Regions from separate parts of the Homo sapiens genome. Here regions 1, 2, 3, 4, 6 and 7 are each linked to region 5. Evidence: promoter capture Hi-C in 16 types of primary human blood cells and fetal thymus (Javierre and others, 2016). All regions are on one chromosome and are shown on one strand. The core of a region is centred on a gene start or on the middle of the fragment in contact, and the rest is flanking DNA. Distances in the headings are between cores, read along the strand shown.

What was found. The method cuts DNA at HindIII sites, captures the fragments that hold promoters and counts their contacts. A CHiCAGO score of 5 or more calls a contact.
Region 1: a contact is called between a fragment that was not itself captured here and the fragment with the promoter of TAFA5 in region 5, in 1 of 17 cell types (endothelial precursors). The highest score is 14.3, in endothelial precursors.
Region 2: the fragment with the promoter of TBC1D22A here is called in contact with the fragment with the promoter of TAFA5 in region 5 in 1 of 17 cell types (endothelial precursors); the score reaches 11.9 in endothelial precursors.
Region 3: a fragment that was not itself captured here is called in contact with the fragment with the promoter of TAFA5 in region 5 in 2 of 17 cell types (endothelial precursors and megakaryocytes); the score reaches 15.6 in endothelial precursors.
Region 4: a fragment that was not itself captured here is called in contact with the fragment with the promoter of TAFA5 in region 5 in 1 of 17 cell types (endothelial precursors); the score reaches 5.8 in endothelial precursors.
Region 6: a contact is called between the fragment with the promoter of CERK here and the fragment with the promoter of TAFA5 in region 5, in 1 of 17 cell types (endothelial precursors). The highest score is 15.2, in endothelial precursors.
Region 7: a fragment that was not itself captured here is called in contact with the fragment with the promoter of TAFA5 in region 5 in 1 of 17 cell types (endothelial precursors); the score reaches 5.7 in endothelial precursors.

The regions. Positions count from the first base shown.
Region 1 is chr22:46,842,598-46,846,361 of GRCh38, reverse strand. The region is part of intron 4 of TBC1D22A (TBC1 domain family member 22A); the gene reads right to left. Among named protein-coding and RNA genes, the nearest start is that of TBC1D22A-AS1, 72 kb to the left of the region's middle. The HindIII fragment of the contact is 289 bases long and covers 2,298-2,586 here.
Region 2 is chr22:46,761,330-46,765,386 of GRCh38, reverse strand. It overlaps TBC1D22A (TBC1 domain family member 22A), which reads right to left and starts at 2,737. Exons shown (of 13, transcript NM_014346.5): 1 at 2,539-2,737. The coding sequence starts at 2,600. It overlaps TBC1D22A-DT (TBC1D22A divergent transcript), which reads left to right and starts at 2,859. Exons shown (of 1, transcript NR_186691.1): 1 at 2,859-3,476. RefSeq lists enhancers at 1,020-1,069, 1,090-1,169, 2,210-2,289, 2,990-3,119, 2,856-3,690 and 1 more and a silencer at 2,030-2,089. The HindIII fragment of the contact is 21,480 bases long and covers 1-4,057 here.
Region 3 is chr22:46,796,372-46,800,192 of GRCh38, reverse strand. It overlaps TBC1D22A (TBC1 domain family member 22A), which reads right to left. Exons shown (of 13, transcript NM_014346.5): 4 at 2,573-2,749. Among named protein-coding and RNA genes, the nearest start is that of TBC1D22A, 36 kb to the right of the region's middle. RefSeq lists an enhancer at 1,376-1,876. The HindIII fragment of the contact is 5,305 bases long and covers 1-3,821 here.
Region 4 is chr22:46,824,725-46,828,896 of GRCh38, reverse strand. All of the region lies in intron 4 of TBC1D22A (TBC1 domain family member 22A), which reads right to left. Among named protein-coding and RNA genes, the nearest start is that of TBC1D22A, 64 kb to the right of the region's middle. RefSeq lists a silencer at 1,493-1,651. The HindIII fragment of the contact is 9,408 bases long and covers 1-4,172 here.
Region 5 is chr22:48,488,253-48,491,993 of GRCh38, reverse strand. It overlaps TAFA5 (TAFA chemokine like family member 5), which reads right to left and starts at 2,441. Exons shown (of 4, transcript NM_001082967.3): 1 at 2,290-2,441. The coding sequence starts at 2,401. RefSeq lists an enhancer at 1-363. The HindIII fragment of the contact is 4,041 bases long and covers 49-3,741 here.
Region 6 is chr22:46,736,880-46,740,991 of GRCh38, reverse strand. CERK (ceramide kinase) reads left to right here and starts at 2,740. Exons shown (of 13, transcript NM_022766.6): 1 at 2,740-2,985. The coding sequence starts at 2,844. RefSeq lists enhancers at 1,898-2,227, 1,601-2,259, 3,498-3,667 and a silencer at 2,388-3,347. The HindIII fragment of the contact is 34,881 bases long and covers 1-4,112 here.
Region 7 is chr22:46,777,789-46,781,616 of GRCh38, reverse strand. All of the region lies in intron 1 of TBC1D22A (TBC1 domain family member 22A), which reads right to left. Among named protein-coding and RNA genes, the nearest start is that of TBC1D22A, 17 kb to the right of the region's middle. The HindIII fragment of the contact is 2,520 bases long and covers 669-3,188 here.

The DNA.
Region 1 (3,764 bases), core at 1,193-3,692, 1.6 Mb after region 5:
AGCATAGGTGAGTAAGCGATGTCGCCACGCCCACTGACAAACATACATACAAATGGATCAGTGCTGCTAGCAACAAATCCAACTCACTAAACCATTCTCATTGAAAGATCACAACAGCTATTGCCTGTTTGCCTCATTATTTAAAACCACATCATGGTATATGTGTGCTGTTGAGATAGATGAGTAACAGGAGAGGGGAGAAAAAGCACTCGGCACATTGCTGCCTTCCAGATGCATTGTGATAAACTCCATGGTTTCTGCCTGGCAACAATACTAATGGCAAGATACCCATTTCTTGTCCCAGACAGATGGATGTCTAAAAAGCATCTCATCTTTTAAACACAGAATTTTTTTACCCCTAAGCCAACATCCCAGCCCTCCCACAGAGCCCTGGCTGTTGCCAGCTCCCCGGCTGCTCCTGCGGGCCGACTGCAGCAAGGCGTATCCTCCTCCTGGAATCGGCTCGCCGCGGTTCCTTCCTGAGGGCTGGCGACCCAACGCAAAGCAGGAACGACAGACTCTGAAGTCCCCAGCTTGCAACTAGTACATGATCATCATTCTATCACTTTCAAATAAAAGAGCCTAATATTTTGAGCATAATGATTTTAAGGAGCTCAACAATTTCTTGGCATGCATTATTCATTTTGGGACACAACACTGTTATTTCACTGAGATTACTGTAAATCGCTACATGAAGAGCTGGCTTGCATGAACAATTAAATGATAGATATGATAAACTAGATTTATAAGCTTTATGTTCCCATAACATAAATTCCTTGAATGATTTAACTCAGCAGAGCTAGAAAATTCTTTCCAGACACCAGGTTCGTGGATCTCCAGCTCCCCCATCAGCATTTAATGAAAACTTACCTCAAAACCGAAAGGAAAAATATTTAATAAAAGGCTTAATATTACTACGGTAACCGCAGCAAGTTGTTTCAGAAATGAATAATAATAGCTCTGTTAGGTGCTTCATTAAAAATTTTCCAACCAAATACTGCCCTTAATCTTCTCCATGGAACAAAAGACTTATTCAGGATCCATGTAGAAGACTGAAAATAACGTCAGATACAACCTTGTGCCCAAGCACAGACGTCCTTACGTCTCAAGCACAGAGAAAGATGGAATCTAATCAGCTAAGAGGAGAGAAAGTTGGGTATTTATCCTAAAACAATTGATTAACAATCTCAATATCCCACTGTTACGTTCTTTCCTCCACGGATCAACAAAGACATTCCTCGTCTCACCAAAATGGCCTTCTCCTGGCACAGGCAACCGCCTGCAGATAATGCAGGAATCAAAGACTACAGTCACTGGACGCCAGGGTATGACCAAGAAACACCAGGGCCCACTGGACTCCAGGCACAGACAGGACTCCCTTCTCCAGAGAATTCCAGAGTTGGAGAAGTCCTAGAAACCAAATCTGACTATGGCACAGGACTTTTGAGACCACCCAGGCAATACTTGCTGGCATGAAGGAGGGCGCAGCATCTCCAACCCAACAGTCTCCTACCACTCTCCACTTAAGAGCCCAGTAGGACCCCTGGGCCTGGGATGACCCCGCTCAGACGTCCAGGCCAGCCTCACTGTGCTCAGACCGTCAACTGCTATGATGCCTGCAAGTGAGCAGGAGGGCTTCATTACAACTGGGTAAGTGACTGCTCCAGACCCCACGGGGGACCCAGATGGAAGCATCCAGCTCAGCCCAACCCTTCCCAGGAATCACTCGGCCCCACCTCTGCCTGGTTCACTCTGGCTGTGCTGTGCTCCTCTACCCACCCATAAGCTCTCCCCATCCTTATACCCAGTCTCCTGCAAACTCACTTCTGTCCCACCACGTCAAGCTGACGACTCAACCACACAGACATCTGGCACACACTCAGTCACTAGCTTTATGCTGGTGGCTACACTGCCTGGCACAGAGGAGGTGCTTAATGAATGCCCACAGGGGGTACAATCAGAGGGAGACAGGGCTGCCCAGATGCTTTATAACTAAATGCAACTAAGCTTATAAACTTCTCCAAAGAGGAGAGTAAGAAGAGAAGGAAGCAGCACGCAGTGGAATAGTTCACGGTCTACACAGCAGTTAACGGTGTACTCAGTGACTGCTGGACATGGGCACCGTGGCATGGCAAGACCACAGACGGGGATGCTTCTCAATGAGACTCCTACTTGGAATGCTTAGAACGGCTTGATAAGAATGTGCTTGGACCAGAGTGCCCACGCCCAGCATCTAGCATGCCTTACCCACATGTTTACACCCACAGGAAGGCTGGCTGGCCAGTCCAGCCCAAGCTTGTACTCCTTTGCAAATGACAGCCAAGAAGACAGAGACCGTGTGACCCTCAAGACCGAACAACCCCACAAACATCTATCTGCCTTGAGATGTCCTGACCCCATCCCAAATGCTTTCTGGCCCCAGCACAGCCAACGGCATCTGCCAGCATGATGAATGGAAGGCAGCTGTCCTTCCCGATGATGTGAGAACACAGGGTGCTGCCGGGTGCTACTCCCCAGGCTGTGTTTACGCTCACAGGTCAATCCGCTGTGAATGAGATGCAGTTTATTTTCATTAACAGAAAAGCTTGGCCTCCTTCACCCCAGGGAACTAGGATATCATACATCTCAGTTTACCCAGTTCACCGCTCACCTGCCCCTCTTAAACTGTTAAGAGTGCCCCGTTTACCCCCAAAACAGATGATAAACAATATGGCCCCTCTATTGAAAAACCCCAGAAGTCTACAGACGTCATCTACAGAACGCGTGATACCCACTCCCAGCCCCAACTTGCTGGATGGGTGTAAAGGCGTCACCCAAAATGTACTGGGGGCCACACTCTGTGCTCTTTTGGGCCCAGATAACAAAGGGGGCATGCTGAGGTGGCTTAATAACAGTGAATGATTCATATTTGGGACAGCTTCAGAATAAAGCCGAGTCTCAATCCCCTGGCATCCCAGGAGGAAGAGCTGCTGCAGCACCGGCCGGGCAGCCACTGTATACCCGTGGCTGTTTTATCTCTGCAGGGGAGTTATTATCATAAAAATCAATGACAACAACAACAGCTGACTTGACTGAGCGCTGCTCTGTGCAGGTGGTGGTTTGTATTACTGTATTAGTACACCGAATGCTCGTAACAACAGAAGCAAGTGATTCCCACTTGACAGATGAGGACCCTGAGCTAAAGGCGAGCAGCAGAACTGGCTCAGTGCCTCCCCTTGAACCACCACATTACAGTGGGTCATTTCACAAATGATGCCCTGAAATCCGGCCACCCAGCTGAACGCATGGAACTAAATCCATTTCCCACCAACTGCCTCAGGTACGCACAGTGTGCTCGAGGCACTGCAGACACTCAGAGACAGCCAAGTCCCAGGGTACATCAGGATCCCAGCCCTGCCATTCTGCACTCCTTCCATCTCCTCATGAACATGGGCCGCAGCACCTCCTTCAGCTCCCTTCTCATCGATGTCACCCAGACACTGCTCCATTCAACTGTGATGCTGTCAAGGCATGCCCTGGGCACGCAACAGCAGCTCTGGAACATCCCTACCTGTCAGGGCGCCAAAGCCCTCCCTCCCCAACTCATCTCCCGAAGCTGCCCGCTGGGCGTGGCTACACAGTGTGTGCACTGCCAAAGGGCCCTGGAGAACGTTCTGCAGTAAGGCTGATGTTCTACAGTTTGATCGGAGATCGCGCTGCACAGGTCATGCATTTGTTAAAACTCATCCCACTGATTTTTGTGCTGCAGGTTTGTACATTTCATG
Region 2 (4,057 bases), core at 1,488-3,987, 1.7 Mb after region 5:
TCTCCACTAGCACTGTGCTTGCATAGGTGTGGACTAAATAAATACGCAGCTAGTGACCAATCACCACTACTGATAGGAAAACGGGCACCCCTCTGTGACTCCTCCTTCAGGGAAGAGTTCCAGCCTGCCACCTGAAAGAGCAGCACTGCCAGAGGCTTGAGCCACAAGACGGATGGGAGACACAGAGGCTTCACAGGCCTTCCTGGTGCACCCAACCTCTCCTTCTTCTTCTGCCCTCTTCAGTGACAGCCTCGAACTCTCCAAGACTCCAACTTCACAAAGGTAATACAGAAGCTGCTCTCAAAAGTGCCTAAGACACAGAATAGCATCAAAGTCAGAGGAAAAGGAAAGCTGGTGTTCGGTATTTCAGGTTCACACAGAAGAAAGCTGGAGACTGTATTAGTCTCCTGTGGCTGCCATAACAAATTACCACCAACTGAATGGCTTAACACAACAGACACTTATTCTCTCTCAGTTTTAAACGCCAAAAACCCAAAATCAAGTGGTCATCTGCAGGGCCATGCTCTCTGTCAAGTCTCTAGGTGAGCATCCTTCCTTGCCTCTTCTAGCTTCTGGTGGCTGCCAGCAACCCCTGGCTTTCCTTGGCTTGTAAATGTACTATTCCAATCTCTGTTTCTGTCTCCATAGGGCCATTTCCCTGTGTGTGTCTCTCTGTATTCAAATTTCCCTCTTTTTATAAAAATACTAGTTGACGAACTAAGGCCCACCCTCATCCAGTATGACCTCATTTTACCTTGATTACTTGTGCAAAAACCCTATTTCCAAATGTCACATCCATAGTTTCCAGATGGACATAAATTCAACTCAGTATAAGGACAAATTACCAAGAGCCACAGCCTTCAATCCAAAGGTTGAGTCACTGCTGTAACTCCACACAGCAGCTCTGTTATTCTTACATCTAAGCTGATTAAGAATTAGAGTTTAGACTGATGAGGAACCAAAACCTTAAGACCTAAAAGTAACACATAAAAGTTACACTGTCATGTGGCTCCTCTTCCCTGGACTCTTATGTTCTACAGCATTTGTTCCTGTCACTACCAGGACCTCCTACCCACCACCATTCCAGAATCTTCACTCACCTTGGACCCTGACACTGGTTTTGTTGAAAGGTCTTACTGTTCTCGAATCAAGCACGGTCCTGTGGAGTCGAATAGGGTCTCCGGCCACCTTTGATGACTCCCTTCATTCTCAAAGCCACTGTCTGAGCTGTCAGTAACTCACGCTGCTAACCCCCAGATCACTCTTAAAAGTAAACTTTCCTTTTTTTTTTTGAGACAGAGTTTCGCTCTTATTGCCCAGGATGGAGTGCAATGGAACGATCTCGGCTCACTGCAACCTCCACCTCCCAGGTTCAAGTGATTCTCCTGCCTCAGCCTCCCAAGTAGCCAGGATTACAGGCATGTGCCACCATGCCCAGCTAATTTTGTATTTTTAGTAGAGACTAGGTTTCTCCATGTTGGTGAGGCTGGTCTCAAACTCCTGACCTCAGGTGATCTGTCCACCTCGACCTCCCAAAGTGCTGGGATTACAGGCGTGAGCCGCCACACCTGGCCAAAAGTAAACTTTTCTAACTGGATGCAGTAAATTCCAAAGTTTATCATTCAAACACTCAAACAATAATATTTATTATGAAACAGGAGTACAAACCATTTTACTGTGTTTATGAATGATTCTACTCAGACTTATCTTCGTAACACAATTCATAATTTTCAGCATTCCAGACTTCAGCTTTGGAACAGAACTATGTTCTGAAATCTTGACGTTTGCTTATCTCTGATCTGTTTTCACCAGTGGCTGATTTTATCCTAGGTACCCTCCACGTAATGTCTCATTCCCTAGGGCCCTGGCATAGCTCAGCGCCACAGCAATCAGACAAGGACTCTGGAGCTCTGGAGCTGTATAGCATCTAGGGTGTACCCAGGTCATTCCAGCCGAAGAAAAAAAAAAAAAAAAAAAAAAAAAAAAAAAAAACTTCCTGCTAACACAACATAGGAGGTGGTTTTGACACCAGCAAGCAGAAACATGGAAACTCACAGGGAAACTCTAGTCCTCTTCTATGCTCAAGGCAAGAGCCGCAGCCCTCAAGAGACCACAGGCAAATCAAGTGGGTCAAAAACACCACACCCCCTGCAGAAACTGATCCACCCAGCAGACGGGGGGCCTCAGCCCGGCCAGCTTCCGGACTCCACCAAACTTCACAGCATGACCCGAATCAGTTCCTTCCAGCCTCCCCAAGGAGCCCAGGAGTTTCTCGGAAAGAAGCCTGCCAGTGTCAGGAAAAACGCCAATAGCTCCTCCTCGTCCTTGCAAGCCTCGATCCTACGTGCAGCCACTGTCACCCCCAGACCCCACGCTCCGACCTCCGAGCCCCCCAACGCCCGTCACACCATCCAGCAGTCTCCTCAGAGTCCAAGTTGCCCTCTCCAGACCCCCGACTCCACCCGCAGCCCAGGAGGCCAACGCGGCCACCTGACCTCTGACCCCTGACCCCGACCTGGCCCTCCGCGGCACACCCACCTGCCCGGGAGCTTGCTGTTGCTGCGCTTCCAGAATTGCTTCCTGGCCCCGTCGCTGGCCATGGCCCCTCCTCATCCCTCAGACCCGCGGCCCAGACACCCCGAGTGCACCCGGCCCTCCCCTAGCGGCCCTTTCCTGTGCCCCGGGTGGCCCCTCACTGCTCCCGGGACTCCAGAGCCTAGAGCCGAGAAGCTCTTCCGCCTCCTTCCGGAAGTTGTGCCTACGCGCGCCCGGAAGTCCCGCCTAAGTCCCTGGTGGCGAGTGACGCAGCACTCCGAGCGCCCGTCGTTATTAAAGGGCGACGCCGCGCAACGCACGTTACACGCATCGCGGAGGGAGCGGAGGTGGTTGGGTTTCTGAGTTTGAGTCTGTCGCTCCTGGCTCTCCCGACACAACAGCGGCGCCCACCTGCCCGCAACGGACTCCCAGGAGCCTCGAGCTCCTCATTTCCAAAGCTGAACTGCCCCGTGTCTGATTCCGATTTCTCTTGAGCGCGTTTCGGAGCCGGCCCAGAACAGAGGGAAGCCAGACACACCATACCCGGCCCAACAGTGGCAGGGCGGCTGCGGGTGCTGGTCAAGCTGGGTCACCCGGCACTGAGTGACGATCAGCAAATACTCAGTGGACGAAATATTTGCAGTGCAGTGAGGTGAGGGGCATAACCGCGGAGCGTATTCGAAGAGATGAGAGAGACTGGGGATTAGGCCAGGCTTGAAGGGAAGAATGGTTTGAGCACCGAGGACAAGAATTAATTCCCCAGGCCTGGGTTCCAGCCTTGTGCGGCTATCACGTGCTTGAAACCTGGCTAGTCCGGAGTGAGATGCGCTTTACGTGTAAAATACAGGATTCCAAAGACGTCGTATAAAATAATTTGTATATTGTTTGCATGTTAGGTAACATTTTTAATGTATTGGATTAAATAAAATGCATTAAAATTATTTTTACATTCCTTTTACTCTTTTTAAAATTATTTTTACCTTTTTTATTCTTTTTTTCCGGGGGGGACTGGGGGTGGGTGTCTTGCTATGTTGCCCAGGCTAGTCTCGAACTCCTGCCCTCTAGTGATCCTCCTGCCTCACCCTCCCCAGTAGTTGGAACTGCAGGTGCACACGTTATGACTAGATCTTTTTACTGTGTGTGTGTGTGTGTGTGTGTGTGTGTGCAGAAAATCACTAAAAAAACCGTGTCTGGTTTGCATTACATTTCTGTGCTTCTTAGACCAAAGATTGAATGCTCAGGGACTGTCATTTCAGACTGGAGCTTTAGTGTATTTGGAGCTCCTGCCAGTTCTCTTTTAAAACAAAAATCTAAGACATATTTTCTGATTAAGAATTTCCCTGGAGGCTGAGGCAGGAGAATAGCGTGAACCCGTGAGGCAGAGCTTGCAGTGAGCCCAGATCGTGCCACTGCACTCCAGGCTGGGCGACAGAGCGAAACTCCGTCTCAAAAATAATAACAATTTCCCATGCCTCTTCATTTACTGGTAAGTAACATTGACTTAGTACTTACTATGTGCAAG
Region 3 (3,821 bases), core at 566-3,065, 1.7 Mb after region 5:
ATAGCAAGTTAGGAATAACCCGCTGCCCAACCGCAGGGGCTGGTGCAGTCAAGTCGGGGGAAATCCATAGGATGGCATGTTACAGGGCACTCTAAAGACTAAGGCGGTTCTCCACGTACGCCATGGGAAAATGTATCATTCCCTTAAAAAGTGAGGTGCACAACTGCCTTGCCGTGCAAGGGGACAAAGAAATACACTGTAGAAATGCACAGACCCCAGAGCATCTCTCTACAGAGCACTTCATCACCAAAGGAAAAAGGGGAGCTCTTCAGTGGAAAGAGCTGGCAGACGCCACCTCAACCAAGTGATCGGAGTCCACATCTTCAACGTGAGGACCCACCAGCACCACGTGCCCCCGCTGTGATGACCAAGGAGAACACGAATCCCTTCAGTGATGTTCCTGCCAAAAATTATCAATCAGAATCTCATTGTGGGCAAACATCAGACAAGCACAAACCAAGGGACATCCCACAAAATCACTGGCCCGTGCTCTGCTAAAGTGTCAAGATGGAAATGCAGAGACCGGCAAAGCTGCTGCGCCAGGTTAGTGGAGAAGACAGAGGCGTGACATCCAAATGGAACGCATGGTCCCCACTGGAGTCTGGACTAAGAAAAAAGAGGGAAAGGACATTACTGGGACAACTGGCAGAATGTGACTATGGACTGTGGATGAAAATAATACAAGTGTTAAAATAGTACTGTGTCAACGTTAAATTTCCTGATTGTGACCCCTGTGCTGTGATGATACTGAGGGAATGTCTTTGTGCTTAGGAAATATGCAGCGAAGGTTTCAGAGGTAAAGGGATATATCTCCAACTGACTCTCAAATGGTTCAGGAAAAAAATGTATATATACACACAAAAACAGGCACACACATGCAGAATGGTAATGGGCAAACGTAAACAATTGGTGATTCTGGGTACAGAGCATATGGGAGTTGTTGGCACTATTCATGCCAACTGTTCTGCAAGTTTGAATTGCATCAACACGAAACGTTTAAAACAACAGATGCATGGGCCATCGCTGGAAGGAGACACCTCGAGCTGTGGAAAGGAAGGGAAGGTGGGGGCTGGGACAGGCCTCATTTTCACATACACCCTGCTGTGCTGTGTCATGTTATAACACATGCAAGTGTTGCTGTTTCAAAAAAAAACAAACATAAGGAAGAAACAACCACCCACTCTGAGAACTCTACTCAGAGCTGTGTCCTTCTAGCCAGGAGACCTTCCAAGAGCCCTCCCCCGCCTCGAGAACACAGCTTCAGCCATGCCCTTTGAACCGCTGCTTCTGCCCGGAAACCCTCTCCCTGCCCTGGGCTTGAGCGTGAAGGCCCGGCTGCTGCAAGCTCCTATATGGCCCCTGCATGGCTCCTGCGTGGCTCCTGGCGGCCCATCCGCGTGCGCCACTCGCCACCTCCTGGCCAAGCCAGGCGTTGCACCTCTGGCTCTTAGAGTGCCACAGTGACACCAGTCATAACTGTGTGATACAGGTTTGTCCCCTCAATGAAGCAATCTCATGACCAAGGCCACATTCCGGTCCTCCCGAGAGCTCCAGCGTCTAGCAAACACCTAGCCAGAGTGGCACTCCACAAAGATGAGATAGGGAAAGGAAGGACGTGGATTCAGCAGGAATTCCACCAGAGGAACTGAAAGCAAGTGCGTTCCACAGAGCCTGGCCACGGCAGTCCACATGGGCACTGCGTGTGCCTGGAAGCAACTCGCGCAGGAAGAGTCACACTGGTGACTGTGCTCTGCCCTGTGGGCCTGCCCCTCTGCCCCAGCCTCACCCCTGCCCCCTTGCAGGGCTCACAGCCTGTCACCCTCTGATGACTGCAAGCCCCATGGTAGGAAAGTACAAAACCAGCAGATTGAGTTGATGGTCACCAGCGCTGTGCCCCCATGAGCCACTGTCTTCAGAATACTGTCAAGAACAAGGATGTCCACCTGGCCAGCCTCGAAGGGCTCACCAAGGGCAGCAATAATAAAGAGTGCAAATGGGACAACAGGAAAACAGAATGGGCCAGGCGTGGTGGATCACGCCTTAAGCCCAGTGCTTTGTGAGGCTGAGGCAGGAGGATCTCTTAAGCCTAGGAGTTCAAGACCAGCCTGGGCAACACAGGCAGACCCGTATCTGTAGAAAAAATTGTTTAAAAAATCTGGTGAGCATGGTGGCACAATCCTGTAGTCCCACATACTCAGGAAGCTGAGGCAGGAGGATTGCTTGAGCCCAGGAATTCCAGGTTGCAGTGAGCTATGATCACACCACTGCACTCCAGCCAGGCAACAGAGTAAGACCTTGTCTCAAATTTTAAAAAAAGAAAACAAAAAGGAACGCAAAATACATTTTCAAATTGCATGGGAAAAACATTAACAAAACTTGTCTAAAGCACAAATTGCTACTACCTTAGTGACTGACTTGAAAATATTACATGAAAACATCACCTTCCTGCAAGGCAAATTACACACGGACGCGTGTGCATTACATAAGCATACATAGAATCCTTTAAGATGTGATCTATTTCAGAAACAGCAAGAAATGTCTGTGTGTGTCCTCCAGAGGGCAGGGTGCTTACCAAGGTCCGTGTTGGGGCCGGCAAGCAGCTGCTTGAACTTGTCGAGCCGGGAGGCCTCTCTTTCGCTCAGCGCTGAGCTGCTGAGAGTGCTGGGGTCAGATGTGCCACCCAGCGTGACGGTGGCCGAGTGTGGGAGAGACTGGGACCTCTGCAGAGGGGCGGCATCGCTGGCACTTTCTGCAGGGGTGAGAGAATGGGGGTGAGGGTGAGGGCGCTCCTCCCGACTACACGTTCCTCCTTGCTGTGCCACTGTCCCTTTGTGAATGCTGATGGGTCCCTTCTTCCCATCACTCAGCAGTGGGGACCTTGGTTTCTTGAGCAATAACATGGAACTGACACCTTTGAAATTCACTCGCTTCACTGGCAGAGTATTATTCACCAACAAAATGGACCACCTTGCATAAAAGCAACACAATGACAGCCAGAAAACTCCAGGGCCCCTCGGGCTGTGTGGAGGTCAGGCTCCCACCAGTGCCTGGGGTGGCAGATCAGGGCCTGCCCAGGTGACATGACCCAGAGGGTCTGTGTAGGACGGTGCCCTCGGGTCAGCCAGGCCTGAGTGCGGAGGGCAAGCCCGTGAGTTACCATGAGGGAAAGGAGAAAGCCTGCAGAGGTGCTGAGGACAGAAGGCAACAGTGGGGACACAGCAGGAACCAGGGCGCTGCGAGGGCTCTCACCTGCCATCTCAAGAGCGTGCCCAACCCCGCCACCTGCCTGGCCCTCCTGGGTCTCACCAGTGCCCTGGGAGGAAGGTCCCACAGGGACCCTCATCCCAAGGAAACAAAGGAAGCCAGACAGGTGAGGGATGGCACCTTCCCAGACCCCACCACAGGCAGTGACCGCAGTGGCACTAGAGTACAAGCTGCCCGCCCTCCCTCCCGCCCTCTGCTGCTGCCCACCATGGCCCCACTGACCCCCAAGACGGACAGGCCCAGGGGGATCCAAGCAGGTGGTGAGACAGCACGTTCCACCCAGCAACCCGGGACCGGGTCAGCCCAAGGGAAGACCCTAAGGCCCTCAGATCACTCAACACTGCCATCCGAGACCAACAAGCAAGAGGCTGGGAAAGGCTCCAAACTCCTGGGTCTAAATCCTGTCTAGCTATCTCATTTTTCAAAAACTGAAAATTAAAGTAGAGTGAAAAATAAACTCCAGGAAATGGAGCCGAAGCAAACGCTGCAGCTGACGGGCCGACATCCACTCCAGCAGCCGCTGAGCAAGGAGGTAGGAGCCGCACTCCCCCGCGCCC
Region 4 (4,172 bases), core at 1,436-3,935, 1.7 Mb after region 5:
GAGGTACTAAGAACAGCACCAGGCACAAAGGAAATGAGCGCTCAACGTGAGGGCGTGTATCTGTGTGTGCACATGTGCACAGCTCACCTGAAGAGCAGAGATGAGCCCATGTGGCTAGAGTGACAGTGGGTGGCAGAGAACAGTCCAAACAGAGACAGGAGGGTGGGAGAAGGCCTAAGTGGGAGGTGGTGAGAGGTGTGGCCTCCTGTCCCAGGCTGAGGAGTCTGGACTCTGAGCTCCATGCAGGAGGCTAACCAAGGATCTGAAAGCAGAAGCTCAGGTAAGCAGACTGGCCTCTAACAAGATCTCCTGTGGGAGACGGGCAGGAAGAGGTAAGCTGGACGCCCTTGGGCCAGACGGGAGACTCCCAAAGCGGCCCAGGCCAGAGACAGGGAGAGTGTGAACTCCAGGACAGGCCGTGGGAGTGGGTAGAGAAATGCAACAGACAAACATCTCACAGTGACAAACATCTCGCAGTGGCCCAGGTAGTTCTTCAAGTGGACATGTTGTTAGAACCAGAATGTGAACAACTAAGAGGACAACAGGCTGCTTCAAAGGCTTCTTGCCTTTTCAATCTTTAATTCCTTTGTCTTTCTTCCTGCAGAATTATGAGGCCTCCATTTTTTAACTTTATCACACTTACATATATTTATTAATCCGTGGGTGAGAAATCATGCTGAGCAAATGTATCCCACCTCCATCCATTCTCTCAAATACAAAAGAAAAATCCCACTGGAGTCCTGACGCTGCACCAGAACCTCTGCTGTGTTGGAAGGCACGGGAGTGTGGAGCAGCCCCCTGGCCTCAAGATGCTTCTAATCTTAGTCAATGGCACACGGAAGTCCCTGGGGCGTGAAAGTCCTGGGAATAATCTGCAGTGACACCTTGTGGGGAAATTACACTGCACGACGCACAGGCCTAACAACACTTGAGATTGTGTTAGGGTGGGGAGCACAAAGGGGAGCACCCATGCCATATATCCGCACAAAGAGCTGCAGAGCGGCCTTAACGCTGCTCACGTGGTTGAGACAGACAGTCCCTGCGGATAAGACAAGCACCTCCAGATGAAGTCTTCACTGCCCGCCCCAGTAGAAAGTGGCCCATCATCCATCATCCTGGGACCCCAGTACGCTCCACCCAGGTACTCTCAGAGAAGAGAGGAGTCATAGGTCACCCTTCAGAAGCCCACCTAAGGCTGAGACCTCACTCACACCACCAGGCTGCACAAAGTGACCAAGCCCACACGCATCCTCAAGTGGAAATGACAGCAGCTCTCTCTGGGCAGGCCGATCACCTAGGCTGATCAGACGTTCTGCTGGCGGCCAGGACTCGTTTTGATACGAGAAGACTACGACTTATAAAATACCATTTGGTACACGCATGTTCAAAAGGTAAGTCCGTGAGAAAGGAAAGCAGATTCCGAAGGGGCTCTGGGTGGCTGAAATGCCTTAGGGATAGGCAATGTGGGTGAGGTAGTCATGTTTTAGAAACACAAGCTGCACCGATGGTGAAAATGCCAACGTCATTAAGAGGACATTGAACACAGTTTTCTCCCGAGGTGATGCATTCGCTGCATGGGAGCTCAGGAACGCCGACTCGGCCTGCATGACTTGCCCCACGTGAGGTCACAACACCATCGCGTGGTGACGGCGGGCAGAGCACTCTCCAAGGTAAGTTAGAAGCCTGACCTGAACAGGCAGGGGGCGCCATGGGACCCGGGAGACCCCACTCACCTGAGGACACAGATTATAACCAAAGAGTGCTGAGGAATCGTGGCACTTATAAATAGGTCGTGAAGATAATTTTAACATAATTTGCTTTCCAGGCACAAAGAACCCTGTCAATCAACTCTACAACAGGATAGAGGAAAGAGTCTCTGTTGATGGCTTCCTGGCAAAGGAAGAAAAACAGATTTTACAGTGAGCTAATCTGTCTTTCAAAAAAAAAAAAACGGAAACTAAAACCAGATTTACGTTTTCGTGTATTCATTCAACAGCTATCTGAGTGCTGACTGCAAGCCAGGAACCGTCCTGCACAGCGTCCACAAGTTTCACTCTGGATGGGGCAAGCGTCTGCCCAGGTTCAAATCCTGACTCTGCTGCGTGGGTGCTATGGGATTGTCCAGTCACCCCTCTGAAACTCATGTCCTCATCTCTAAAATGGGTACAACACTTCACTTTGTAGGACCATAGCACTCAAGCAAGCTCCGGGACAGTCTCCGGGACCTCGCTTCCACCCAGGCTGGCCCTGCTGAGCCTCACAGGAGCCCTGGGTGCCCAAGCTCCACCTGCATCCCATCCACCTTCCAGGACACCAGGACACGAAAAGCCCTCTCCCAAACACACTAGGACAAGACAAAACCATCAGCGAAAAATCCGCTCAGGAAATTGACAGCAGAAACACAGATGGCCCATAAGATGTGAAAAAAGAAAACTTGATCAAGTCTTAAAAATAGGCATATCTTTGGAAACAATAATTTTACATTGAGTAATTATCCCAAGAAAATAACCAGAGATGAGAGCTAAGATGTGAGTACTAAGATATCTGAGGCAGTGTTTAATGGGAAAAACTTGGAAGAAACAAATGGAGAACAGGGGCGGCCAGGAAAGTGTGGCCCAGCCAAACAATGGAACCCCACATTGGTACCGAATGTCGGCTTGCAGAAGAACATCCAGTCACACAAAGGGCCACAGTTTAGCGTTAAAAGAAGACCACCAGCTGGGTGTGGTGGCTCACGCCTATAATCCCAGCACTTTGGGAGGCCAAGGTGGGCGGATCACGAGGTCAGGAGATCGAGACCATCATGGCTAACACGGTGAAACCCCATCTCACTAAAAATACAAAAAATTAGCCAGGCGTGGTGGTGGGCACCTGCAGTCCCAGCTACTCGGGAGGCTGAGGCAGGAGAATGGCGTGAACCCGGGAGATGGAGCTTGCAGTAAGCCGAGATGGCGCCACTGTACTCCAGCCTGGGCGACAGAGCAAGACTCCGTTTCAAAAAAAAAAAAAAAGAAGACCACCACAGTGTCTCATCACCCAGGTGAACTTCTGTTTGAAAAACGTTTTTTCATATTACATATGCAATATGTGAGGGCAATTTTTATTTAAAACAATTCAGTTTAGGCTGGGTGTGGTGGTTCATACCTGTAATCCCAGCACTTTGGGGAGGCCAAAGCGGGTGGATCACTTAAGGCCAGAAATTCGAGACCAGCCTGGCCAACATGGCAAAACCCCGTCTCTACTAAAAAGACAAAAATTAGCCAGGCATGGTGGTGTATGCTTGTAATCCCAGCTACTTGGGAGGCTGAGGCACAAGAATCGCTTGAACCTGGGAGGCAGCGTTTGCAGTGAGCTGAGATCGTGCCACTGCACTCCAGCCCGGGTGATAGAGTGAGACTCTGTCTCAAAAGAAAAAAAACAATTCACTGTAATCTTTTTTGGCAAGTGGGTATTATATAATTCATATGAAGGGAGAGAACAAAGTTCTCTGCATCTCCTGGTAAAGGGAGACGGGCAGATTCCAAAGGCAGAGCCATTGCGGGTCCCCTGTGCTGGTGAGGGGAGCTGGGCCCCTGCAGAGAGGAAACACAGCACAGGCATGGGCACGGCGGGGTTCAGACCCCCAGGAAGAAAAAGGCACCTCTAAGAAATTCCTGGTGGCAAAAGGAATTTCTCTGGGGGGAACGTGGATGTTTAGTCATCGATTTTAAGTTATTACATAACTATTACATTATCCCTGACACTCCAAAACTCCACTGACGCCTGCTGCACACGCAAATGCCTTGCGTTAAGGGAAAACACAGGCACCACCCTTCTTTGCAGAATTAAAAATGTATTGACCCAAGCAGATCAGCACATGAAAAAGAATGCTGGGCAGGCCAGGTCTCAATGTAACTCCAGCATCCACACCCCACGTCCCCATCCTGGCATCTGCCTCGGCTACAGATCACTACAGACACACCTGTGTCCAGCTGCCCACTTGACACCCTGACTGATGGCTCAGGGCACCTCAGGCTTTACATGTCCCAAGCCAAATTCCGTCTCTTTTCTCCCCAAATCTGCTCCTCTCCAAGTTGCCCCATCCTCAACAGCCACTCCTGATGGCCCTCCTTCCCTCATCCTTCACACCCAGTCCCTCAACAAGCCTCCTCCCCACAGCTTTAAAATACACC
Region 5 (3,741 bases), core at 1,192-3,691:
ATTACATGGAGATGGAAACAGCCATAAAAAATGTGCTTCACCCAAGCTTCTGTTATTAATTATTTCTGCTACTCTGGTAAGACCTTCTTACCAATTGTCCTTGTCCTGGCGAAAGGCTGTTTCCAGAACGCTGGGGAGGCCTCCTAAGGAGGAGGGATGAGTGTGGAAACCAGATCTCCCATCCTCAGCGTGTCTAAGCAGCAGGCTCAGATGTCTGTGCTGGGACACCAGGACTCCACTCGGCAGAGCAGGCGACAGTCTCAGGAAGGTGTGAGCCCGTCCGGATGAACAACGTGCTGACACCTTAGGATTCAGGATGCAGCGCAGGGTGGGAGAGGGCTGACGCTGCGTGTCTTGAGACAGTGTGTACCGCGCTCCTCGCGGGCTCGGGAAGTGCGGTGTTGAAGCCACAGGGCCCTGGTGTCAAGTACTTCGCAACAATTAGCAGTTGTTCTTTTCCACACCTGCTGAGCTGCTGGGGGTTGGGGGTGAGGTGTTGTCCTGGGTTCTAGCAGCCAGCCAGGGATGGGCCGCCTGTAGTGGGCTCAGGGCACTACAGCCCCTCCCCAAACACTGCTGAATGAGCCCCCTCTCCCTCTCCTCTCCTCTCTCTCCTCTCCTCTGGGGTGATGCCACCAGGAAGTGCATTCAAATGCCTCCTCTTCCGCACAGAGTTTACCTGCCATTAACCCTTTCTACATCTCCTAGGAAGCCTTGCTTGGGGATCTTCTAGGGAATCCCCCCACATACCCCTGCAGGCCCCGTGACGGCCGCGGAAAACTCGGGGGCAGGCACAAATGTCGCTCAAACCCCCAGACCCTGCTCCCTGCAGGCGGCCAGCCAGTGAGTTCCCAGGGGCGCCGGCGCACCCACGGTGGCCTCGTCTGCCTGGGCAGCTCGGGTTGAGACCCCCAGGCTTGGCGACCCCTCCCCGCTCGGTGCCACAGCATTTCTAGGGAAATGCATAACCGCGCTGAAGCAAGTAGGAAAATTCCTGCTCTGGTCCCCGGGTTTCCCTTGCGATCCTGGCGAGCTGGGCTGTCCCAGGACTCCGGAGGCCGATCCCGCGGCTGCCCGGGTCTCCCTGGGCCACTGTGCTCTCATTTTGGCGACAGCGGAAGGATCAGATCGGACTGGGAGCTTGGAGGCCCGGGGCTCTGGAGGAGGTGGTGTCTGTGGAGGGAGGTTCGGTGCTGGCCTTTTTTTTTTTTTTTTGTAAAGAATCCATATTTTTCCATCACCTCCCGCGCCCATGGCAATTCTCCATGACAGGTGCTCCCCAGCACCCGTCCTATTCTCCCGCTGAAGACAAGAAGCCCGGAGCTCCCGGAGCTGAAGCCGACCAGCCCGCGCCATCTGGGGCCAGAGCCTGTGCCCGGGACGCTGAGCGGCCCCCACTTACCCCACCAGCCGCGAACGTGCCCCGGGATGCTGAGCACCCTCCCCAGCGCCGAGGCTGGAGTCTGCACCCGGGACTCCAACCACCCCTCATTCCACCCGCCTGGAGCCTCGGCAGGGGCACAGGCCACCCCCCACCCTTCACTCCAGGCAACAGGGAGCCCGCGGCGGTCACCCCCTACCCCAGCCCTCAGCTCACGCCCGGGCGCCCACTGGCCCGCACCACCCCAGCCCGCGCCCGCGCCAGTCCCGCCGGTCACCAGCTCGGGCCCCAGACACGACCCGAGAAACGTCCGCGGCCGCGGCGAGCCCCCTCCGGGCATCCCATCCCTCACTTCGCTTCTCTTTCCAGAAGGCGCCTGACGAGCCCGTTTCCCGGGAAAGCGGAAGCTCCAGCTGCTCCTCCGAGCCCAGGCTGGGCTCCTGCCTGAAGAGCTCCTCTCCGGGCTCGGCCGCCGCCTCCCCCCTTGTCCCGGGCTGAGGCACGGGGAGGGCGCTCCGCAGACACCCCGGCAGCGCCGCCCGCCCTCCGCGACCTGCGGCTGCCTCCTGAGCGCGCATCTCGGCCGGGAAGCCGCTGGCTGGGCTCCGACCGCCGGGCAGGGACGGGCCGCGCCACCCGGGGCCTGGAGCCCGGGCCCTGCCGGGGAGTCAGGGAAGGGAGGCTCGGGCCGGGGCGTCCGACCCCGAAGTGCTCGAGCGCCCGGAACCCGGGTGGACCCTCTCGCCCGCCCAGCGCAGCGTTGGACCGGCCGGGACTCGGGGGACCATGCGCCCGGCGCTCGTAACTCCGCGCCGACTCCGGGAGGCCCGCGGGGCGCCTGCCGGGGCCGGAGGAGGGGGTCCGGGGCCCAGAGGGCCGTGCCGGGGCCGGGGCCGCGCGGTACTCACTGCAGTAGGCGATGAGCAGGCTGGCCAGGATCATGAACGCCCAGAAAGTTGAGGACATGCTGGGCAGGGCGGTCGCATCTTGCCGGCTGCCGGTCCTGGGCGATGGCGCCATTGAAGCCGCGGCGCCCGCGCGGGGGGCAGCAGCGCGTCTCAGCAGCCGGCCCTGCCCGCGCCCCCGCGCCGGCCTCCACGTGCGGGCCCCGCGCGCGCCATCCTCCGCCGCCGCCGCCGCCGCGCCCGGGCCCCGGCCCACCGCGCCCCGCGCCGCGCCCGCGCCGCCCGCGCTCGCGCCCGCGCCCGCCGACCCCGCGCCGGCCCGCCAGGGGGACGCCGGCCCCGCTCTGGGCGTCACTGCGCGCCCCGGCTACGCGCGCCCCGGCATCCGCGAGAGAGGCGCGCGCCCGCCACCGCTGGGGGCTCCAGCCGCCCGCCGACCCGGGCCTGGCAGAGGGGACGCGGCGCCCAAGCCGCTCCTCCGGATGGCGACAGAGACGGCCTGACGCGCCCGCAGCCTGGGCCCCCCACGGGGAGGACGGCCGGGCCAGGTGAAGTTCGCGCACTTGGGCCTTCCGCGCCCCCATCCACCGCAGCCAGGGCCTGGAAGGCTGGGGAGGGGGCGGGGGCGGCAGACGCCTCCTAAGGTGGGTTCTGGGACTTGGATCCGGAGTTTATTCCAAGGAGAGGGTGCTCTGGGCCTGTTCCCTAGGTGTGCCCTGTTACCCAAAATCGGGCTTGTGCAGTGGGGTCCCTGAGTCCACTGGGAGCACAGCCTCAGACCCCAGCAGAGTCACCCTTCATCGGAAGCCCACCACCCTGAGGGCTCCTCCTCCACCTGGGGCGGCACTGCCAGGCACAGGCACGCACTTTCCCTCAGTCCTCTGCCCCACGATCACTCTACTCGGGCACCTCTGCCACTGCCTGGTCCTTGCTGAGCCATCTCCTGGTTCATCTCCCTGGAGTCCCTGCAGGACCGGCTCTCAGTGGCGTCTCCGGGCTCCCAGTCCCAGGACTGGTCCTATCCAGGTGGGTTTTCTGAGCAGGATGACAATGATCGCAATCTATTTTACCTGCATAGTCAACGATCATCTGCAAGACAGGTTCACTCCTATAACAAGCAAAGGATGGGGGGAAAATGAGCCTTGTAAGGACACAAGGACACTTTCCCCATCTCCAACCCTCCTAGTCATGTCCCCTCTGCACCTCCCTCTACAGCCCAGGAGATACGCTCCCCAGTCCAGGATGTCCAGATGGCCCTGCTGCCTGGAGAGGCTCTGGCCCCTGCCGGTAGCTGCCACAGCACCACCCCAAGCTCTGCCTTCCTGCAGGTTCGTGCACACGACTAATAGAACCCCTCCTCTGGAACTCACAAGATATTCTCCATCCTGCATAGGGCTGGGGGCTTGAGCACCCCAGGAGATTCTTTTGGCGCTGGAGACCCTTTTCTGAGGAGCC
Region 6 (4,112 bases), core at 1,491-3,990, 1.8 Mb after region 5:
GCAGCCGGGGGTGGAAGTGCCATGCAGTGAGCTATCAGGGGACTCTGTGGCAGAAGAAACAAGATGTGGTTTGAAGGAGAAGGTGAGTGGGGGCCTCCCAGGCAGACGTGTGGGAAGGGCATTTTGGGCAGGGTCTAAGGTGGGAAAGGTGCCTGCCAGGGAAGAGGTGGGTGAGGTACCGGGAGGTCCTCAGGCAGCCAGGGCTGGCCTCGTCTACATTTTCAAAGCTCCTGTGTCCTTCGCAGCCAGCTCCTGAAGGGCCCCCTGGGTCTGACACACAGCAGGGACCTGACGGCTGCTCTGGGGTGGAGCTGCTCTTTCCTCCCATCCCTCCAGTGCTGTGCCCAGAGTCATGGCCCTGGCCCCACACAGGGCCTGACCCCCACCCAACCCCTCTCCCATGCAACTCAACTGCAGGATGTGCATCTTCTGGAAACCTGGGCTTCGTGACATCACCCTGTCTCCCTGAGCATGAGCATGGGGCCCTGCAGTGGCCAGGCCCCTCCCCAGCCCATCCTAGGACTACAGGTCCCCTGGGTCTGCTCAGGCTGCCATAACAAAATATCACGGACTGGATGGCTTCAACAACAGCAATCTGTCGTCTCCCATGAACAGTTGGCAGAGGCTGGAAGTCTGAGGTCAAGGTTCAAGCCCACAGGGTTGGCCTCCTGGAGGTCACTCTCTTTTGTTGCCCCTTCCCATGGCCACCCCTGTGTACACACGCCTCGGGGGTCTGTGTGTGTTCACGTTTCCTCTTCTTTTTTTTTTGAGATGGAGTTTCGCTCTCGTCACCCAGGCTGGAGTGCAATGGCGCAATCTCAGCTCACCTGGGTTCAAGCAATTCTCCTGCCTCAGCTTCCGGAGTAGCTGGGATTCAGGAGCGCACCACTGCACCCAGCTAATTTTTGTATTTTTAGTAGAGACAGGGTTTCACCATGTTGACCAGGATGGTCTCCAATGCCTGACTTCAGGTGATCCACCCGCTTCAGCCTCCCAAAGTGCTGGGATTACAGGTGTGAGCCACAGAGCCCGGTCAACATTTCCTCTTCTTGTAAGGACGCGCTGGATGAGGGCCCACCCTAACAGCCTCATTGAATCTCCTGTGTGTTTTGTAACTGATGTTGCTGTCTCCCCCAACGGAGCTCCTTCGGGGCCTAAGCACTTCTGAGTCGTCTCTGGGCCCCCACCTCTGGCTGCAGGATTTTAAGCCAAGGCGTGCAGCCGGGGGACAGCAACGTGAATACGCCGGGAGGGGCACGGGGAGCCTAAGCACAGGGAGGCCCAGGGAAGGGGTCCCCAGTAGGGACGCTGGTGCTCTCGGGCCCCTGCCCATGCCACCCTTGCCTGCCAACCCTCTTCGCATGCAGCGGCACCCTCCTGCCACTGGCATGAGCTTTTCTTTCCAAGTAAGTTTCAGATCCACATTTCCCAGGCCTCAGAGCGGCAGCTGAGGGAGGGAGGAGGCTGGGCAGGCCTCGCTGCTGCACACCCCACTGTGTGCCACGATCAGGTACTGCCTGCTAGGACTCTGACTGGGCCCACGGTGGCTGCAGGACTGTCCTGGGGCCTTCACTGCATGGCCTGAACAGGGGCTGGGCTCCCAGGGAGGAATGATTCATGGCTGGTTCCCGCCCTATAGACAAGACAGTCACAAGGAGCTGGCAGGGTAAGACCTGTATATGCTGCCACCTGGTGCCAGGCACAGCAGCAAGGCCACGTGGACCTAGCCCACCTCACCTCTGCCTGCAGCAGCAGGGCTGGGTAGGGGAGCCGAGGGGAGGGGCAGGCCTCAGACCTCAGTGTCACATCCAGGCAGTGTCAGTGTGAGCCTAGGCTCTGCCACACTGGAGCCCTGTGCTCTTGGGCAAGTGACTTAACCTCTGTGAGCACAGTCTTCACTGATAAATCAGGGAGGGATGTGCCCTCCGAACCAGGTTGTGGCTGCTTCCTATGGGGCTGTGTTAAGCACTGCGGACGCAGAGACTGGAGCTTGCATGAAGGCGCACGGCGTGCTCTGAAGGCAGGGCTGGAGTCCCTGCAGGCTGGTGATTCCTTCAGCTGTGGGGTCAAGGAGGCCTTCCTGGGGAGGCGGTGAATTGGGGCCACAGGGGCCGTGTCTCTCCAAGTCTGGGGCCCAGGCTCCGGTTCCTAGGGCCAGCTCGGGGGCGGCTGCTCAGCTGTCTGCTCTGTGGCTTCAGGCCCCAGAGCAGTTCAAAGGGCCAGCGCCCCCGCCCCCTAAAAAGACCTCCGCCTCCTGAAAGCCTTACCTGCCTGTCGGGGCCCAGCTGCAGGCCCCCTCCCAGGCCGACAGGACGCCAGGATCGTAGAGGGCACCCGCCGCCCAAGGTCACGTCGCCCGTGGCGCCCCCATCCAGGCCCGCCCCCCGCCGCGCCCGATCGCCAGGACTGCGTTTCCACGCCGCCCGGACCCCGCCTGAACCGAGGCCCGCGCGGAAGGCGCCACTGAGTCCCGGCCGGCCGCGGGAGCGCCAGATTCAGCACCCGGCACCCGCCGGAGAAGAGAGGAGAGAAAGGCAGCCGCCTCCCGGCCCCAGCGCCCTGGCCTCGGCCAGCCCCATCCCGGCCCCTTCCTCCTCCCTCTTCTCCCCTTCTCGGGTCCCCCCGTCTCTCCCTGGCTCCCGGCCCCTCCTCTACCCACGCCTCCTCCTCGCCCCCGCCCCGCCCGTCCCCTCCGCGGTCCCCGCCGCCCGCGTACGGGGTGACGCAGCGCCGCCTCCCGCCGCCCGCCGCCCGCCGCCCGGGCCACTGCAGGGGCCGCTAACGGTCCGGCGCCCCTCGGCGTCCGCGCGCCCCCAGCCTGGCGGACGAGCCCGGCGGCGGAGATGGGGGCGACGGGGGCGGCGGAGCCGCTGCAATCCGTGCTGTGGGTGAAGCAGCAGCGCTGCGCCGTGAGCCTGGAGCCCGCGCGGGCTCTGCTGCGCTGGTGGCGGAGCCCGGGGCCCGGAGCCGGCGCCCCCGGCGCGGGTGAGTGTCGCCGCCGCCCGGGTTCGGCCGGACCTGGCCAGGGAGCGGGGGCGGCTTGGGGGACCCGGCTGGGGGGACCGGGTGCAGGGAGCGAGCGGCTGTGGTAAGGCCGGGGGCCCTGGGAGCGCAGGCGCCAGGGAGGGGTCGGGGCAGGCGGGAGGGAGGCCGGGGCCAGGGGCCGGGCTGTGCGCCGCCGTCTGCTCCGGGAACCCGAGGACAAAGCGCCGCGCAGTGGAGGGGAGGCCGGCGCCCCATCCCCGCGGGGAGGTGGGACCCGGGGCGCGGGGTCGTGGCCCCCGGTGCGGTCTGTCCGCAGGGCACCTCTGGACAAGACGGACTGTGGATGGATCCCGAGGGGGGGTGCCAGGCGCTCCCCACCGCGCGCATTGCAGTTTACTCCAAGAACAGATGCTTTTCTTTAGCAGGGATCCGAAACCTGAGAGGCGCCCTTGCAGGGTGAGGACTTCCTGTTAAGAAGTTAAAGAAGGGGCCCCTGACTTTCTGTGGGGTGTGCTCCCTGCTCGGGATGGGGGAATTGGTTTCCGTGCCACGGGTTGGCTACTTGCCCCGCAGAGGCCCTCCGGATGAGGAGAAGAGTGACTTTGGTAAACATGGAGGACGCATAGCCCACCCTGGAGAGAGCCCTGCAGGAGGACAGAGGGTTTGTTTTTGTTTTTTGTTGTTTTTTGTTTGTTTTTTGTTTTTTTTTTTTTTTGAGTCGGAGTGTTGCTCTGTTGCCCAGGCTGGAGTTCAATGCCACGATCTTGGCTCACTGCACCTCCGCCTCCTGGGTTCAAGCAATTCTCCCTGCCTCAGCCTCGGAGTAGCTGGGATTACAGGAGCCCGCTACTACGCCCGGCTAATTTTTGTATTTTAGTAGAGACAGGGTTTCACCATGTTGGCCAGGCTGGTCTTGAATTCCTGACCTCAGGTGATCTGCCCACCTCAGCCTCTCAAAGTGCTGGGATTACAGGTGTGAGCAACCGCACCCAGCCTTTTTTCTTTTTAATTATTGGGGTGGGTGTGGCAGAGGCCAGGATTCATGCTGGATGTGCGGAGCTGGAATGGGGTGGGTGTGGCGGAGGCCAAGATTCTCTGGTGGATATTCGGAGCCTGGGATGACACCT
Region 7 (3,828 bases), core at 679-3,178, 1.7 Mb after region 5:
AGCCCTCAGAATTGTGGCCAAAGCTCCCCTTTTCAGCATAGGCACAGGGAGATGCAACTGCAATGCCACCACTCGTAAGGGGAACCCGAGGACACCCATGGCAGGCGAGGCAGGTAAACTAAGGTCTAACACGAGAACTGGGGTTGGGCGTGGTGGCTCAGGCCTATAATCCCAGCACTTCGGGAGGCCAAGGTAGGCAGATCGTTTGAGTCCAGGAGTTCAAGACCAGCACGGGCAACATGGTGAAACCCCGTCTCTATAAAAAATATAAAAATTAACCAGGCATGGTGGTGTGCTCCTGTAGTCCCAGCTACTCAGGAGGCTGAGGTGGGAAGATCACCTGAGCCCAGGAAGTCAAGGCTGCAGTGAGCTAAGATCACGCACCACTGCACTCCAGCAGTGACACCAGCAACACCAGCACCAGCAACTGCACTCCAGCAACAGAATGACACCCTGTCTAAAAAAAAAAAAAAAAACAAAATTGGGAGGGCACCTCCAGGGAGAAGAGCAGAGGGGTCACGGCATAAGAACAGGCTGGAGACACTGGTCAGTTGTGGGGGTCGGGGCAGGGGGAAATGCCCAAGAGAAAGAGAATGGGTCCCTGACATCAACACCAACTCTTCAGGACTGTGCCCAGAGCTGTCTTTACAACATGATTCAGAAAAGCTTAAATTTAAAAAAACAATAAACAAAATACTAAAATCCAATACTTGCTGAGAATCTACTTCTGGATAGCTAAGGCCTCCAACTTGGTCCTTGCCTGACAGCAGCGTGCAACACAGATGTCTTCAGCTTCTACTGACTACGCTGCGTTATGTTTCTCCATTCAAGTCACTCAACAAACACTGACTGGGCACCTGCTCCACACCAGGCCCGGGCTGGTCCTGGAAAGCTGACAGTGAACAAGCGAGAGTCCCTCTCCCTGTCCTTGGGCCGCCTCAGTGAAGGCAGCTAATCCATGAGGATACAAGTGACTCTGAAGCAGGAAGAGACAAGTCAGAGTCAAGAGGGACAGAGCGACTCTGGCCAACGCTGCAAGGCCGCTGGGTTTTGACAGGAGGCAGCTCTCCCTGGCAGATCCTGCAGAATGTTTTTCTGGTTTGAATTTGAAGCCTCTACACCAAGGTGCTCTTTTCAAACAAACCTGATGGTGTATCAGAACAGCTTTTTTTTTTTTAATTGAAGGTTAAACAGCAGTAGGTGAAAATAGCAGTGAGGGAAACAGGGAAGAGTGAAAGAAAATAAAAGTATGGAAAAGCAATAAATCCAGCTGCAATGTTCTCAGGATCATAAAATAAATGAAACATTTACGATTAAATGCTTCTCTGTATTTCACATATATGAAGTAAACAGGCAAGTCATCTAGTCAAATTCATTTGATGGCTAATCAACCTCTCTTCTCCAAGCACAGTCATTATTCAGTGCCCCCTTAGGGGTCAATAGCAGCTTTCTGAAATACGTACTCAAATTGGCAACTGAATTTACCACTCAGCTCATTCTAACACATGGTGATACTCCCCAGATTTATAAAATATATTCAGAAGTAAATTTTCCAAGGAAATTAACTCTAGGAGCTTTGGAGGAAAAATGTACGAAAAACCATCATGGCAACAGTGAACAATTCCACCATCCCCTCCGTCCACAGCATAATCTGAAACTTGTGCCCACCCCGAGGGTCAACAGCAGAAACATGTGGTACCTGAGACCCAAACCAGAGGGTCTCCGAGGGCTGTCCCGCCCCGACACCCACACCACTCTGACTGGCAGCAACACATACGCTGTCCTGCAAGGCTCCCAGCTATGTGGTGCTGCTTCTGGACCACAAACTCCCTGCTACAGGGGCTGCATTTTGTCTCATGTCACACTCCTCACAGCCCTCGGAGCACTGAGAACCCAGTAGGGGCTGAGGCAATTACTGGGTCAAACGGACATCTCTGGAAATAGGTCTTGGAAACAGCATTTTTACAATGATTTTTTCCCGCACATAACAAAAGCAATGTGTGTTTATTATAGAAAACAGAAAATATGAAGGAAATGGAAGTATTTTGAAATTGTCCTGGCCAGGCGCTGTGGCTCACGTCTGTAATTCCAGCTCTTTGGGAGGCCGAGGCGGGCAGATCACCTGAGGTCAGGAGTTCGAGACCAGCCTGGCCAACATGGTGAAACCCCGTCTCTACTAAAAATACAAACATTAGCCAGGTGTGGTGGTGGGCACCTTTAAAAAAAAGAAAGAAAGAAATTGTCCAACACAGAGAAGTCAAGCCACGCACCACATAACGACATTTTAGTCAACAACAGACCACATATAGGACCATGGTCCTGTAAGACTATAATGCAGTTGAAAAATTCCTGTCACCTAGTGATGTCACAGCCAAAGTTACATCACATCACAAAGCATACTCCTGTGTTTGCGGTGATGCTGATGTAAGCAAATCTACTGCACTGCCAGTCCTATAACAGTATAGCACATACATTATGTACTGTACGTAATACTTGATCATAATGAACAACTATGCTACTGCTTTATGGATGTATTCATTGTACTAATTGTATTATACTTGTTTTTTTATTTGAGACAGAGTTTTGCTCTTGTCATTCAGGCTGGAGTGCAATGGTGTGATCTCGACTCACTGCAGCCTCTGCCTCCAGGGTACAAGCGATTCTCCTGCCTCAGACTCCTGGGTATCTGGGATTACAGGTGCCCACCACCACGCCCGGCTAATTTTTGTACTTTTAGTAGAGACGGGGTTTCACCATGTTGGCCAGGCTGCTTTCGAACTCCTGACCTCAGGTGATCTACCTGCCTTGGCCTCCCAGAGTGCTGGGATTACAGGATTACACTGTGCCTGGCCTATTGTACTATACTTTTTATCATTATTTTAGAGTTATGTTCCTTCTGCTTGTTTAAAAAACAAAATACAATAAAAGCTGTAAAACAGCCTCAGGCAAGTCCCTAGTCCTTCAGGAGGCATTCCAGAAGAAGGCAATGTTATCATGGAAGATGATGATTCCATGCATGTTATTGCCCCCGAAGACCTTCCACTGGGGCAAGATGTGGAGGTGGAAGCCAGTGGCACTGACGGTCCCGACCCTGTGTCGGCCTAGGCTAATGTGTGTGTCTGTGTCTTAGTTTTTAACAAAAAGCTGAAAAAGTAAAAAATAAAAAATTTTAAAAAGAGAAAAAAGCTTACCGAGTCAGGATATAAAGAAAAATATCTTGGTGCAGCTGTACAACGTATTTGTGTTCTAAGCTATGTGTCAATAGAAAGGAGTCAAAAAGTTTTTTAAAAATCAAAACGTTTATGAAGTTTAAAAGTCACAGCAAGCTAAGGTTAATTTACTACTGAAGAAAGAAGGTGTGTTTATGAATCTAGTAGAGCCTAAATGTAGAGTGCTAATGACATCTACACGATGCACAGTGAGGACCCAGACCTTCCCATTCACTCACCCTTCATTCACCGACCCACCAAGGGCACCGTCCAGTCCCGTGAGCGCCAATCGCACCAGCTGCCCTACACGAGTATGCCATTTTATCTTTCATTCTGTATTTGTACTATACCTGCTCCATATTTAGAGATGTTTAGATACAAAAATACCAACCATTGTGTGACAACTGCCTGCAGTATTCAGAACAGTACCATGCTGTACAGGCACATAGCCTCAGAGCAACAGACGGTGCCGTACAGCCTAGGTGTGCAGCAGGCGACACTGCGCTAACTCTACCTGGGTTTGTATAAATGTGCTCTGTGATGTTCACACAGGGACCAAATCACCTAAGGACACATGTCTCAGAAGGCGTCCCCGTCGCTAAGTGATGCATGACTTTCG